3 separate regions of the Homo sapiens genome follow, and all the other regions are linked to region 2. Evidence: promoter capture Hi-C in human tissues and cell types (Jung and others, 2019). All regions are on one chromosome and are shown on one strand. The core of a region is centred on a gene start or on the middle of the fragment in contact, and the rest is flanking DNA. Distances in the headings are between cores, read along the strand shown.

Region 1 (4,841 bases), core at 519-3,018, 200 kb before region 2:
CATTGTGTGTATGTATGTGTGTGTGTGTGTGTGTGTGTGTGTGTGTGTATGGGGTGCAGGTGGTGGTGGGGTCTCTTGCACTTAGAAACCATGCATATCTCATTGACTCAACTATTCAGGTTCTTTGAGTTAAAGGAGGTAGAAATCCTCCTCGACCAGTTTAAGCAATATAAGGAAAGTGATTGGTTCATGGAACTAGGGGAATCTTAGGGTGGCTCAAGCTGCAGGTTGGAATGTCTGCAGGGTTTGTACAATATCTTCAGAATTCTCTGTCTTTATTGCTGTCTGTCTCTCCCCATCACTCAGCTATTTGTCTCTGCTTGTCTTTGTTTTTAGTTAAGCTTTGTCCATATGATAACAGAATTCTGTCCTCATCTTAGACCTGTAGCTCCATCACTGCTTACATGTAATGTAAGCTTATGTTGTCTTTGGAAATTTTGCCTTCTAAAGAAAAGCAATGTTTTATAGGATGCATTTACGTAAATCTCCCCAAAGGGCTTTGATTCATCTTGCTTGGGTCTTGAGTCCAAACTAAAACCAATCAACGTGTTTGGATTGTGGGAATGAGTTTGCAAATGACCCCTCTTCGTGATATGCCTAACTCTGTGGTAGAAGATGCAAAGCCACCTGGATTGACAGCCCCATCACACAAGGGCTGGGAAGTCAGTTACCAAAAGGAAGGGAAGCAGAGCACATAAGAAAGAATGCCTGTTCTGTATGCTGACCTTTTATGCATTTGGCAAGTAGGACATGTGAGAGTTTAGGATTGAATTAATTCTATTACCAGGAAGTGTGGGAATCCTCAGTTCTCGTCTAACTTGGGAGAAAGAATTCAGCCAAGAGACATTTAGTAACGTAAAGCAAAAGGTTTATTAAGGAGATAAGAGTACACTCCAAGAGAAGAGCGAGCTTGTGTGGCTGGAAAAGTACCAGTAGCAGTGCTTATTTAAAGAGACCGTATACTCTGAAAGATGAGTCAGAGTGGGCTGCTTAAAAGAGAGAGTGAGCCAGCAGCAGTAAGAGTTCTCCACTGTGGTTTTTATTATGCCAGATTTTTTTATTTAAGTTCCCACCTCTGTTTTCAGTCTCTGCCTTTGTGTTTGTCTAGTTTTCCTGCTTCTGTCCTAAGACTCTGCCTTTTCCCCACCTAGTTCCTGCTCCCAGGTTAGTAGGAGTCTCCCTTACTGTCAGTTGATGCACATGCATGCACGGGCCTGGTGTTGGATATAAATTCTACCTAATGAGAGTGTTGCTCATTACTGCCACCCCAGTAAGGTCATATAGTGGTTAAACCTGTACATACTGCACCTGTGTATCTCCTGGGATTTTTTTTTCCTTTGCCCTCTTTCCATCCCTATTAGCATATAGCTAGCTACATTCTGACAGGTTAACTGCAGAGTGAAAGATTACTGACATTTTTTTCTGCATAGATATTTCCCCTCTTCTCTGCTTATATCTAGTATGCTTGTTTTGTGTGATCTCTGGGATGTGAGATTTTCCAGACCCCACTTTTCTCAGGGACTCTCCATCCTGCTCATGTCTAGCTATCTGCCTACTCTAACAATTCCACTTTAGAAGTACCAAAGAAACTAAGAAACTCAGTGTATGGCCAAGAAGTTAGAGTGAGACCTTTTTGCCGGTTAAAGCATAATGAGAAATTGGATAGGAGAGAATCTGACATTATAAATAAATTGAGACCATTTATTTCTAGAAGAGAAAGAGGATTTCATTTTTAGACCTTGGTTTCTTTTTGGTTTTCTGTTAAAAATTTAGACATCCTTATTTTGTTACTTGGGCTATAATCTTGGGGGATACTGTATTGGTCAAATAGGCTGCACCGTACTTTGAGATGGAAAGTTATCACAGACAGGAAGAAAAAAAAAGTGTTTTTTTCTGCTTTCACTGTCTCACTCACCATAACACTTCTGACACCAGATGTGTGGAGGCCTGTTTCCCCACACGCCAAGCAATCCTCCAGCAGACACCAGCTGGGTGACCTCTCATTCAACTCAATTCTGACCTTATCTGCCTGGAGTAGATCTATACCAGTTCCCACAGGTTAAGGGCTCAGTCCTACAAAACTGTCTCCAACTTTAGATGCTAGTAGCAACTAGTTGGTTGTCATATATACTTATGACCAACTGGCTATCAATCAGAGGTTCCTATAACTCCTTTCTCAGGTTTGGTTGATTTGCTAGAATGGCTCACAGAACTCAGGGAAATACTTTACTTACATTTACCCATTCATCATAATGGATATTATGAAGGATAAAAATGAACAGCCAATGGAAAGGATTTGTAGAGCAAAGCAGCTGGGAAGGGGTACAGAGGGTTCACACCCTCTCTGGGTCACCTTCTAGGAACCTCCACATGCTTAGCTATTCAAAAACTCTCTGAACCCCGCCCTTTTGGATTTTCATAAAGGCTTCTCTTGATAGGCAGGACTGAATAAATAATTGAGCATTGGTGTTCAACTCAAGCTTCAGCCCCTCTCCGTTTCTGGAGGTTGGAGGCTGGGCTGGAACTTCAAGCCCTCTCTCTAATCCTGCCATGGTTGGTACTTCTGATGAATAGCCCCATCCTGAAGCTATCTAGAGGCTGACAGCCATCAGTCTACTCATTAGCATATAAAAGACTCTCTTATCACTCTGGAGGTTACAAGGGTTTTAGGAAAGAAAGAAGATAAAATACATATATATCTTATTATAAATCACAATATCACAAAAGTAGACTAGAATGTGAGTATTTGGTGTGCTGTATTCTACGGCTTTGGAAAATGTTTGATTAAAGTATATTTTGTACCTCCTTCAGAGACTTCCATGGGCCATAGATATACTGCTCCTCTCACGGTTTCAAAGATGGTACAAAGGTGGGGTAGTGATTCCCCAGGAGTAGGCTCAGGAAGTGGGGACGGAACTGCTTACCTTCCTGTGGGAACAACCATATTCCTATTTACCATGGATTGTGTGTTGAGCCGCTGGCTTAAAAGAAAATAAAAAATAGTGTGGACTGCAAGTGAGGTGATGATTCTGCCTCTGTCCCCAAACTTCCTCCTCTTCTCAGTGAAAAAGGTGAAATTTCCATCCTTTCTTCGTGCTTCTCCTTCTGAAACTGACTTTGCAAAAATTGTATCAGTGAGAAAATCATGGCAGTAAAAGAGATCTGATTTAACCCACCCTCCATCTTGCCTTTCCCTTAATCATTCTTGGGCTTAGGCTAAGCTAACTTTGGGAGACATTTGGTTTATAGTTTAAATGATAATAGGCCTTCACCAAAACTCAGCTGGCTTTGTACAGCTAATCAGGCTAGGAGGAGGAGAGAAGCGATTCTGCTAAGGTGTAGACATAAACAATTGCCAGCCATTCCTGTGGATAACACCACTACTGTAGATTGGCCTTTTAAGACATCCTTTCAGGGTTTATTGTTTGTTCGTTTTTTTGGCATGTCTGACACCCATGGCTCCACCTGGACCTGCCAACCCCACTCCTGTGGACCCACTCAGAAGTGATTCAGCTCAAGAGGTCAGCTTCAGCTCCTTATAATTTTATTTCAGCCCCAACCAATCAGCAGCAAGCACCTATTAGAGAGGTGCTTCTATTATACACCCATTACAGAGGTGCTTCTATTACCTAGGTACATTTCAGCCCCACCTTTTCCCCTAAAACGCCTTTGAAAAACCCCTACCTGTGAGCCTTGGATGAGATTAATTTGAGTACTAACTCCATCTCCCAAAAGGCATGGCTGGCCTCATGTCTATTCAACTCTTTCTTTACTGCAATGCCATAGTCTTTATTTGTGCAACAGGCACAAAGGACACCTCAGGCAGTTAGACTTCTGACAATCCCCTTTGTGGCTTTTCTCCCCAACCCTACCTCCACAACATACAAAGAGAAAAGAGACCCTATTCTGATAGGTCAGAATCCCAGGACACTGTTTGTTCCATGGACATTAGTGGAAGTGGTCACTGTGTTACAATTCTTTACCCTTGCTCCCTCTGTCTGTTTGATAAAGAGACCTAGGCAAGACCTGCCTTTTTGGGACAGACCTGTTCAGATATTTTCTGCCACTCTACTTCCTCTATGCCCAAGCAATAGGAAGCATGCCTATTAGATATTAACCATTCTTTTACATATAATTAAAATACTGCATTTACCACATCAAAGTTAAATGTATACTAGGAACTAATTCAGGTTCTTATTTCGATTTCACTCATCTGCTTGTATATTTGTATAAAAACACCATGGTGGTTTCATGACACTGAATTTATAATGTTCTGATGTCTGGTAAGACAACTTTCCTCACTAGGCCTCTCTCGCTTATTTTATTGGCTGTTCTCTGCCAAATGCATTTATTCTACCAAATGAAAATATAAAGTAGTTTATTTAATTAAAAAAACGCCTGTGGGGACACTAGTTAGATTGCAATAAATTTAAGCATTAATTTAGGGAAAATGGACATTTGGTAACATTAAGTATCCTCATCCAAAACATGATAAGTAAAACATTTACTATAATATCTGTCATATAAATGTTGTATTAGTGCTAGTAATTATTATTATTATCATAACTATTTCCATATGTTCAGATCTTGTTTTATATTTTTCAGTAATATTTTATACATTTTAAGATGTAGGTTCTATCCCTTTCTTCTTAAATTTATTCCTACATATTTCACAGTGAATGAAGTTTTTAAAAAATATTATTTCTAAGTATTTGTTGCTAGTGCTTTAAGGGCTGTTATTTATACATGTATCCTGTATCTAATTGTCTAATGACCTTACGTTATCTTTTTACTTATAGTTTTTTAACTTAGACATTTGAATTTTCCAGAAATATAATCAT
Region 2 (4,692 bases), core at 48-2,547:
AAAAAGTATAGCAAAGAGTTGCCATCCAGTCCTGGGGCTGTCTAGCGCCTTTATGCGTAGTGGGTACGGGGTTGGGGAAAGAGTGACCAAGGGGAAGAGAGTGTAGGCTCAGCTCACGGGTCGCCCAACAGCCTCAGACAAGCCACTTGACCCCTGGACTCAGTTTGGGAACCTGTAGCAATGGGTTTGACCTCTTCTCCTGGCTGCGAGTATCACCACTAGGGAGAGGCAAAGGCTTGCAGAAACCCCAACTCCCGCTCAGGCAGCGCGCTGCCCCGGGCTCCGGTAGGGTGGGGACTGGTCGCGAAGGCTAGAGAAGGCAATGGCAGGGGAGGTCAGTCCCTGCCGCGGGCCGGCTGCAGAGCGGACGTTCCGCCCTGCTCCCGGCCCCCTCTTCGCCCGCCGGGTTCGCCGTGTCGAATAACTGCTGTCCGGAGCTTTCGTGACGCGGAGCTTCAACTGCTGCGATCCGGAAGAAGCGAAAAGGAGTCCCCCCCGCCCCGCACCCTGAGCGCCCGGGCGTGCAAACGTGGGTGGCGGAGAGCGGCTGCCCTCCCCTCCCCTGTCCCCCCTCCCCTCGCGGCGCTCCCGTGTGTGCGGGTGTGTGAGTGCGTGTGTCTCCCTCGCTCACTCTCGCACACGTTCCGGCACTAGTGCAGGCGGCGAGCCGGCGGCTCTCCGCTCGCTCGCTCCGGCAGCTGCGTTCCCGCCTCGCCCCGCCGCCGCCGCCGCCGCCGCCGCCGCCGCCTCTGCAGTCGCAGCCGGGCATGGTGAGTGAGTGAGGTCCAGCCGCCGCGCGCTCTCCCGGCTCGCCGCCGGACCCCAGCCTCAACCGGCTCCGTCCCAGGGAGCCAGCCTGCGGCGGGAGCGCGCTGCGGGGCCGGGCGGCTGGGGGACCCGGGCGGCCGAGCTGCGCCTGGAGGGGCGGCCCGTGCGCTCTCGGTTCCAGGCGCGCAGGGCCGCGGGACCCCGTCTTGGGAGCGGGCTCTACGCCCCTCCCGGCTCCGAGTCTCTCTCCTCGAGGGCTGCGCGCACCCTCCCCGCCCGCCTGCCCGCGGTTCTCCTCCTGCTCCCGGAGCGCCAGTCGCCCCACCCCGTGACCGGCTCCCCGTCTTGTCCCGCAGGACCCGCCCGGACGGGACCACGCCGCCGCCGCCGCCGCCGCCGCCCGGAGCCGCGCTTCGGGTCCTGCCTGAGCCGAGCCGCGCGCGGGGCCGCAGTCACCGCCGGCGGGGGATGGGGCTGCCCAGGAGGCGCGCCGAGCCCGCAGGGGGAGCGCGGAGCCGGCGCGCAGCCTGAGAGCCCGAGCAGCCCGCGCCGGGCCGGTCCGTGCGCACCGCGCGCCGCCGCCGCCACTGCCGCCCGCGCCTCGATGGCGCCATCGCCCCGGAGCCGCTGACCGCTCAGCGCCTCCAGCCCGGCCCGCGCGGCGGGTCCTCCGAGCCCGGCCCGCCGGGGGAGCGGCCTGCCGCGGAAGCCTCCCCGCGCCCTCCCGCCCGGCCCCGCCATGGCGCTGCGGCGCCTCCTGCTGCTGCTGCTGCTCTCGCTGGAGTCCCTGGACCTGCTGCCCAGCGTCCACGGAGCCCGCGGCCGCGCCGCCAACCGGACCCTGAGTGCAGGCGGCGCTGCCGTCGGGGGCCGGAGGGCCGGGGGCGCCCTGGCACGGGGCGGCCGCGAGCTGAACGGCACCGCCCGGGCGCCCGGAATCCCGGAGGCGGGAAGCCGGCGGGGGCAGCCCGCGGCGGCTGTGGCGGCGGCGGCCAGCGCGGCCGTCACCTACGAGACGTGCTGGGGCTACTACGACGTGAGCGGCCAGTACGACAAGGAGTTCGAGTGTAACAACAGCGAGAGCGGCTACCTGTACTGCTGCGGTACCTGCTACTACCGCTTCTGCTGCAAGAAGCGCCACGAGAAGCTGGACCAGCGCCAGTGCACCAACTACCAGAGCCCGGTGTGGGTACAGACGCCCAGCACCAAGGTGGTGTCGCCGGGGCCCGAGAACAAGTACGACCCGGAGAAGGACAAGACCAACTTCACCGTCTACATCACCTGCGGGGTGATCGCCTTCGTCATCGTGGCCGGCGTCTTCGCCAAGGTCTCCTACGACAAGGCCCACCGCCCTCCACGGGAGATGAACATCCACAGGTGAGAGCGCCGCGTGCCGCGCGCCCCGGTCTCCCCGCGGCCTCACCCTCTCAGCTTGCTTCCCCTGTCCTCTTCACTCTCGGCATCATCACACCTCCCCAGGCCCTCTAGTCATTTCCACCATCGCTCCTTTTGCATGCAATAAATCAGGGTCTTCTTGTGCCCCCTCCTCCATTTCTTCAGAACCGGGAATGCATGCTTTGGTGGTAGGGGGATTTACAAGGCAGAGTAAGAATTGGTTGAGTGCATGAAGTTCCAAGTGTAAGAATGTTACAAATTCTGTAATCGTGGATGAGGATCCAGGGTTCTGCTTTCCTGGCATGAGGGCACTTTGGTGTAGGTTCTTAATGGCATTTAGTTTTTTGAGTCAAATCAGAGTGTCATCTTCAATATAGGAAACTGACCAATGTTGGAACCTTACTGAAAGCGGTACCAAGTGGCTTAGGGTCAACTGAGATGTTCTCGTACATTAGGAATTGGGGTTTTATAGAAAGGATGCCTCCTGCCGGAAGTAGGGATAAAGATTTCTCCATTCCATGTTGACCAAGCACAGATGGTGTCTCCTCATTGCATCCTGCGGAGTGGGATGTTTATCTTTCCTGCTGAGACTAGAGGACTCGTTCTTTGAAACCCTGTAGGCAGAACTCTGAGTTAACAGTACTCGCCTGTGTTAAACCTGGTGGGGCATCTTTCACTGCTTACGTTCGAAAGACAGTGGGAGCTGCCTCCTACCAAAACTTACGCCAAGAGCTCAAACTATGGCAGTCCCTGGTTGCACGCTGAATGCTGCCCCGACGCACCATCTTGCCCCCCAGTGAGCCCTTGGGGAAGTCAAAGCCAAGGGGATGACAGAAACCCAGCCTCCCCTTAGAACTCTAGGAATGACACACCCAGAGGATGCAGAGTTAGCTCGGCTTCCTGTCCCCTCATGTTGATGGATGGCTGGACATGGTGCAAGAGTCCTCTCAGGGAACAAACCCTGCCCCGGGAGATGCCTCCATTTCTGTTGCATGGTGTGGGCACTGCCCTAGTCACCATGAGCACCCCCCAGACCACTGCTTGTCAGTCAGTCCTGCAGGCCCCCACACTGACCCATTCACCTTGAGCTCTTCTCTGCGTCCTGCTTGTTATTCTTACCACCTGAAAACCGCCTTCCTCGCTGCTGTGCACATTAATCACCCCTGCCTTGCTGAAGAGAGAGAAAGGCAGATAGAAATTTCTAGGCATGTTAAAAGAGCTGATTTTTTTTTTCTGCTTGATACTGTGGGTGTTGAGAGAAATGATACTCCCTGGAAGGTTTTATTGAGTCAAATCCACAAAGGGTGGGTACCTCAAACTCGCGTGCTGGAATTGGAGTGATTCCAAAAGGAGACCCTTTTATAAGGCTCTGTCACCCTGAGGTGCCTCCACCCTGTCTTCCACTTGCACCTCATGTCTCAGATAGTGCAGTAAGTATCCTCTTGTGTGAGAAACAGCCTGTGGTCAGTCTTGGCTCTCAAATGCAGAAGACAAGTGGGACGGTGAGCAAAATAAAGGCAAGAGACAGTTTCTTTTGCATCTTGTCTGGCAAAGAATTTTCTGTCTCGGCTCAGTGTGGAAAGAAAAGAAGGAATTGCCCGTGGGCAGGTGCTGTCCTGAAGCAGATGTGCTGGTCCTTATCATCCTTACACCTCTGCCTCAAGACTTGGAGGCTTGTCTCCTCTTCCCCTTCCCCTGTGGCCTTGGCCTCTCATTAAACCTTCTGCTCTGACCACAGCCGCTTGCTCGTTGATTCCTACACATCTTTCTTTAAGTTACTTTCTTTCTGAGCCATTGTTCTCTGTACTCAGGGAAAACTGCCTGCTGCCCTGACCCTTCCACCTCACACAGTTTATTCGTCATCGCCTGGGATGATACAGAGGGCGGTGTCCTCAAATGCTGGCAGCAGGCATCTTTGGATGCTGGCATTGGCACGTGACCCTGGAGAGGTCACTGTCCCTCTTGGTGTTTTCTCCCCTTCCCACCACCCTGATGCCCCTTACGCCAAACTAGGGTGAAGGTGATTACGGCATTGGGGCAGCTTCTCTCTGGGGTTGGGGAAGCAGAGTAACCACGGGAAGGGAGATGAATTTCAGGCCTCAGAGCTTTATGCAAATATGGGATGTTTCCCCCTCAAGTTCACCACCTGATTTTATTCAGTTCACAGCCTCTCTTCCAGCAGCTGCAGTCTTGCCTGATCAGTGCTTTGGAAACCATCATATCCGTGCCTGTTGGGTAGGGGACAATGCCTGTCTGTGTGTGGTAGGGGGACAGGGCATGGGGGATCCATCTACGACACTCCATGAATGACCTTGGGCAGGTCAGGGAAACTTATTTTTCAGTTCTGGGTAACTGAAGCACAATGTCCCAACTCAGCTTCTTGCTTCCGGGGCACGTCAGGGTGAGTGTGCAAGTTGATCTCAGACTCCTGGGGGTGAGTGTGACTACACCACTCTTCTCACTTTGCTCACACCTCAGAGACCACCGTTTGCCATTCTGGGGAGTATTTTTGTGTAGACTGTCTTGTTG
Region 3 (4,779 bases), core at 691-3,190, 190 kb after region 2:
TAGTGTTCAAAGTCCATCTGTCCAATTGAACTTTTTACCCATTAAAATTCAAATATCCGGCCAGGCGCCTTGGCTCTCACCTGTAGTCCCAGCACTTCGGGAGGCCAAGGCGGGTGGATCTCCTGAGGTTGGGAGTTCAAGACCAGCCTGACCAACAATGGAGAAACCCCATCTCTACTTAAAAAAAAAAAAAAAAAAAAATTAGCCAGGCATGGTGGCGCATGCCTATAATCCCACCTACTCAGGAGGCTGAGGAAGGAGAATCGCTTGAACCTGGGAGGCAGAGGTTGCAGTGAGCTGAGATTGTGCCATTGCACTCCAGCCTGGGTGACAAGAGTGAAACTCCGTCTCAAAAATAAATAAATAAATAAATCCAATCAATCAATCAATCAGTCAATCAAATATCCCTCATAGGAATTGAAAAAAAAAAAAACAATAAACTTTAAACTTTATCTGCATTTAGCCTTCAGGTTGAAAGTGATTATTACATCATGGCCATCAAGATAGTTACCTACAATCAGGTATTTGAATTGGAAAAGGAAGAAAGGGAACTAACATTTGTCAATGACCCATTTTCTGTGGTAAATACTAGTAGATGCCCCAACGAAGGTATTATCTCCTCACTTTTGAGATGAGGAAACTGAGGATCACAGACTTCAATAATTTGCTAAGTGTCACACAGCTAAGAAGAGTTAAGATTACAAGCCAGAGTTTTTCTGACCCTAAAACTACATTCTTTCCATCGATTTTAGTCATTAGGGCCATTTGTTGAACGTTTCTGGTTCTCCCCACTCTTGAGTCCATAGGAGAACTGCAGTTTCTGGCCCTTTTGTGATTGGACGAGGCCACGAGACTGGTTGTGGCCCATGTGTTGTGAGTAGAATTGAAGTCTTACTTCCAGGATCAAGTGTTTTACCGCAAGACCCTTAAGAGGCCCCTGGCATGGCACCAGCAAAGTTTGAGTCTCTGAGGGACTATGATCAACAGATGCTCCCATCCTGCCTTCTGCTAAATCCACAATGAACATGTTGCACGAACAAGAAATCAACTTTTGTTGTTTGGAGTCATGGGGGGTTTGGAGGTGTTTGTTACTCCAGCATAATCCACCCTATCCTGACTGATGTATCACTGAAGACGAAGGAGAAGGGAGTAAGGGAGTGTAGAGGCTGCCTCAAGAGAGCCCTATTTATGTCTTATGGCAGCATGAGGGCTCACCTTTACCTTGGCTGACCTGGGCTCCATGGTGTCTGCCTACCAACCGACTTCTATTTCTGGATGCACCTGGGCATAATAAGAACCAGAGGCACCTACAGCATTACTCAGAGGTAGGGTGTGAACCCCATTGCCTCATTCATTCTGAATGCTTCTTACTTTGGAACAGCAAAGAACACAAAGAGAGCAGGAGAAGTGTTATCCCTTCCCAAGCCTGTTCTGACACACATAGCACAGCACGAGGCTTTTGAAAGAGGCTTAACGGAAGCAGCATCCTCACATCAGAGCAGCTTGTCACGGAGGAGCCTTTGTGGCTGGAATGGGCATTTGCTAAGTTAGTCTCCCCTCACTGGGCTGGGGACTGGTTGACACAGGGCTGGGGTGCCAAGGTTTGGGATAATCTGGGGAGGGACTGAAGCATAGATTATGATGCCACCTGGCATGAGTTTCCCACATCTTCTTCCGTCGGAAAGACGGGATTCTCTTCTCATGTCCCCCCTGAGTCATCAGCCCAGCAGCTTGTTCTTCTGGTTGTTCATGTCTCCCCACTCTCCTCCATGCCACTGAGGATTGTACTTCCTCGCTGCTGCTGACTGTCCAGAATTCCTAGGTGGATACAGTCCCCTTGGTAGACAGCTGCACCCTCCACACAGGAAACAGCAGAGAGGGGAGTGTGGAGCAGGAAGAGCTGCCCTTTATGGCTCTGTCCCTCTTACCCACACCCACCACCACACAGGTTTGTGTGGCTGCCTTAGACTTTGCTCAAAGATGAAGGTATACCAACTGAGTAAAAGATGTAATATTTTCAACTGCATACCGAATCTAGCTTTTCCCATGGTCCAAGGAGGAAGCATCCTTCTAGAGGAAATGATATTGTGGACACTGCCAGCTGCTAATTTTGTTTCTTTAATCTCTTAAGTCCAAGATATTTTTCAGATCCATTCCTTCTTCAAACTTCCAGCATGTGAATTGGTACCCATGTTTCAGAAAACCCCACTGTAGCGATTGATCTTGTCCAAGAGCTATCCGTTCCCTGTTTCTCCAACAGCAGGTTTCCTTAAACCTAAGTTATTCAGTCTACAAACACACCCGGGCATGGGGTACCCTTGAAAGGTAGACTTAGGTATTCTAAGTTAAAAACACAACAAAAACAAAACAAAAACAAAAACAGAGTAGCTCTTCCTTGGGCTCACCTGTGTTTTGGCTTCCACCTATGATAGCACTTGAAGAATTGGTTCTGTTGCTAAGAAAAGTTGAAACATCACTGGCCTGTCCAACCACCCCCACACTCCCATTATATAGATGTAACAAACTGAGGCCAAATGCCTTGCCATTAGCAGAGTGCTCTTCAGGTACACTAGAATCCTAAAAGCAAATTTGCTTGTAAGAGGGAACAAAAAGATTCAAACTCACCCTGAAGGTTTATAAAACCAATATTGGGTTCTTCCATGAAAATGGAAGTTGAGAGATCAGAGAAGAAAGGATAAAAGCATTGAGATGGTGGTGGAAGAATGGTTTATTGAGAGGAAGCCACAAGGATTAAAAATAAAAATGGATTTCTGTGACTTCATGCTTCTGCATAGGATGGGTTCTGCTGTTGGCCATGAGCTTTTCTCTTGCAACTCTCAGTAGGGTGGACTCCTCTGAGTCAGTGAGAATGGGACAGTTGAATCAACAGTCAAAACGCTCAATTATCTGTAAGTTCTGCTTTGCTGCCATGATGTTTACACTCAGCCTACTTCATTGAAAGTCCTATAAAGAAAGTCTGAAGTTGAATGAGGCACAGGGCTTCGTGCCACCTAAACCCTAGGGCCACTGCATCTGAAATATATGTTCTATATGGGCAGTTATAGAGAAAATTTGATCTGTTACAGTTATTTAGCTTCAAGCAATGGTAACTGACCCTGCCTAACTTAAATAGAGAAGGAATTTATTGGGAGGACATAGAATAACTCATAAAAACAAAGGGGAGAAACCACTTTATCTGTGTCAATCCATCTACTGATTAATGGACAAATAAAATATACTACATTCATACAATAACATATGTCTACCCATAAAAAGAATGAAGTGCCAACACATGCTACAACAGACACAAAGCTTGAACACATTATGCAAAGTGAAAGAAGCCAGTGTTGTATTAAAAAAAAAAACCCACGTATTGTATGATTCCATTCATATGAAATATCCAGAATAGGCAAATCTATAGAAACAGAAAGTAGATTATTGGTTGCCTGGGGCTGGAGAGCAGGAGGAAATGGAGAGTGACTGCTGATGGGTACAGAGTTTCTTTGTGGGTGATGAAAATGTTCTAAATTTGATTGTGGTAACAGTTGCACAACTCTGTGAATACACAAAAAACCATTGAATCATATACTTCAAATGAGTGAATTGTATGGCATGTGAATTGTATCTCAATACAGCTATTATATATATCTTTTTAGTATACTTAAAGTTCTGGGGTACATGCGCAGAATGTGCAGGTTTGTTACATAGGTATACATGTGCCATGGTGGTTTGCTGCACCCATCAACCCGTCATCTACATCAAATGGTTCTTCTAATGCTATCCCTCCCCCTAGCCCCCCACCCACCGACAGGCCCCGGTGGGTGATGTTCCCCTCCCTGTGTCCATGTGTTCTCATTGTTCAACTCCCACTTATGAGTGAGGACATGCAGTGTTTGGTCTTTTGTTCCTGTGTTAGTTTGCTGAGAATGATGGTTTCCAGCTCCATCCGTGTCCCTGCAAAGGACATGAACTCATCCTTTTTTATGGCTGCATAGTATTCCATGGTGTATTTGTGCCACATTTTCTTTATCCAGGCTGTCATTGATGGGCATTTGGTTTGGTTCCAAGTCTTTGCTATTGTGAACAGTGCCATAATAAACATACATGTGTGTGTTCAACCATTGTGGAAGACAGCATGGCGTTTCCTCAAGGATCTAGAACTAGAAATGCCATTTGACCCAGAAATCCCATTACTGGGTATATACCCAGCTGTTATATATTTTTTAAAAAGTTTACATTCAGAAAACCTCCAAAAAATGATCTAAAATCCTGGCTTAGAAACATTCAGGACCCTGGATACTCTAGAGAATCCACTTGTAAGAGAGACCTGATGGATTGAATGACATTCACCCATCCTTGTTCCGCTGTTTGCTTACTCCACTCAAGATGCAAAGCCCCAGGAGAGCATCCTAGGGACTTTACCTGGGGATCTGCCATCCAAACAAGACTGCATCAAAGGAAAAATAGGTAATTTCCCAAGATGAAATCAGGAGGTTGTTTTCAAAGAAGGAAAAATGGTTGTGAGAGGTCAGAATCAGTGCACATTGCCCGCAGCATGCCCAGAACCACATGCGGTATATCCCAGGACACTCCTTGTTTGGAAACATTTTTTCTTTTTTCTCTCTTTTTTTTTTTTTTTTTGAGACTGTGTCTCGGTCTGTCACCCAGGCCAGAGTGCAGTAGCACAATTTTGGCTCATTGCAACCTCTGCCTCTTGGATTCAAGTGATTCTCCCACCTCAGCCTCCTGAGTAGCTGGGATTACAGATGCGTGCCACCA

Evidence for each region. The method cuts DNA at HindIII sites, captures the fragments that hold promoters and counts their contacts. A contact is called where the count stands out against the background at its distance.
Region 1: a fragment that was not itself captured here is called in contact with the fragment with the promoter of SHISA6 in region 2 in 4 of the 25 tissues and cell types used here (H1 embryonic stem cells, IMR-90 fibroblasts, adrenal gland and 1 more).
Region 3: a fragment that was not itself captured here is called in contact with the fragment with the promoter of SHISA6 in region 2 in 2 of the 25 tissues and cell types used here (dorsolateral prefrontal cortex and mesenchymal stem cells).

What each region holds. Positions count from the first base shown.
Region 1 is chr17:11,038,231-11,043,071 of GRCh38, forward strand. No RefSeq gene overlaps it. Among named protein-coding and RNA genes, the nearest start is that of SHISA6, 200 kb to the right of the region's middle. The HindIII fragment of the contact is 4,187 bases long and covers 1-3,862 here.
Region 2 is chr17:11,239,916-11,244,607 of GRCh38, forward strand. It overlaps SHISA6 (shisa family member 6), which reads left to right and starts at 1,298. Exons shown (of 6, transcript NM_207386.4): 1 at 1,298-2,145. The coding sequence starts at 1,508. The HindIII fragment of the contact is 17,378 bases long and covers 1-4,692 here.
Region 3 is chr17:11,429,441-11,434,219 of GRCh38, forward strand. The region is part of intron 3 of SHISA6 (shisa family member 6); the gene reads left to right. Among named protein-coding and RNA genes, the nearest start is that of DNAH9, 170 kb to the right of the region's middle. The HindIII fragment of the contact is 7,046 bases long and covers 1-4,779 here.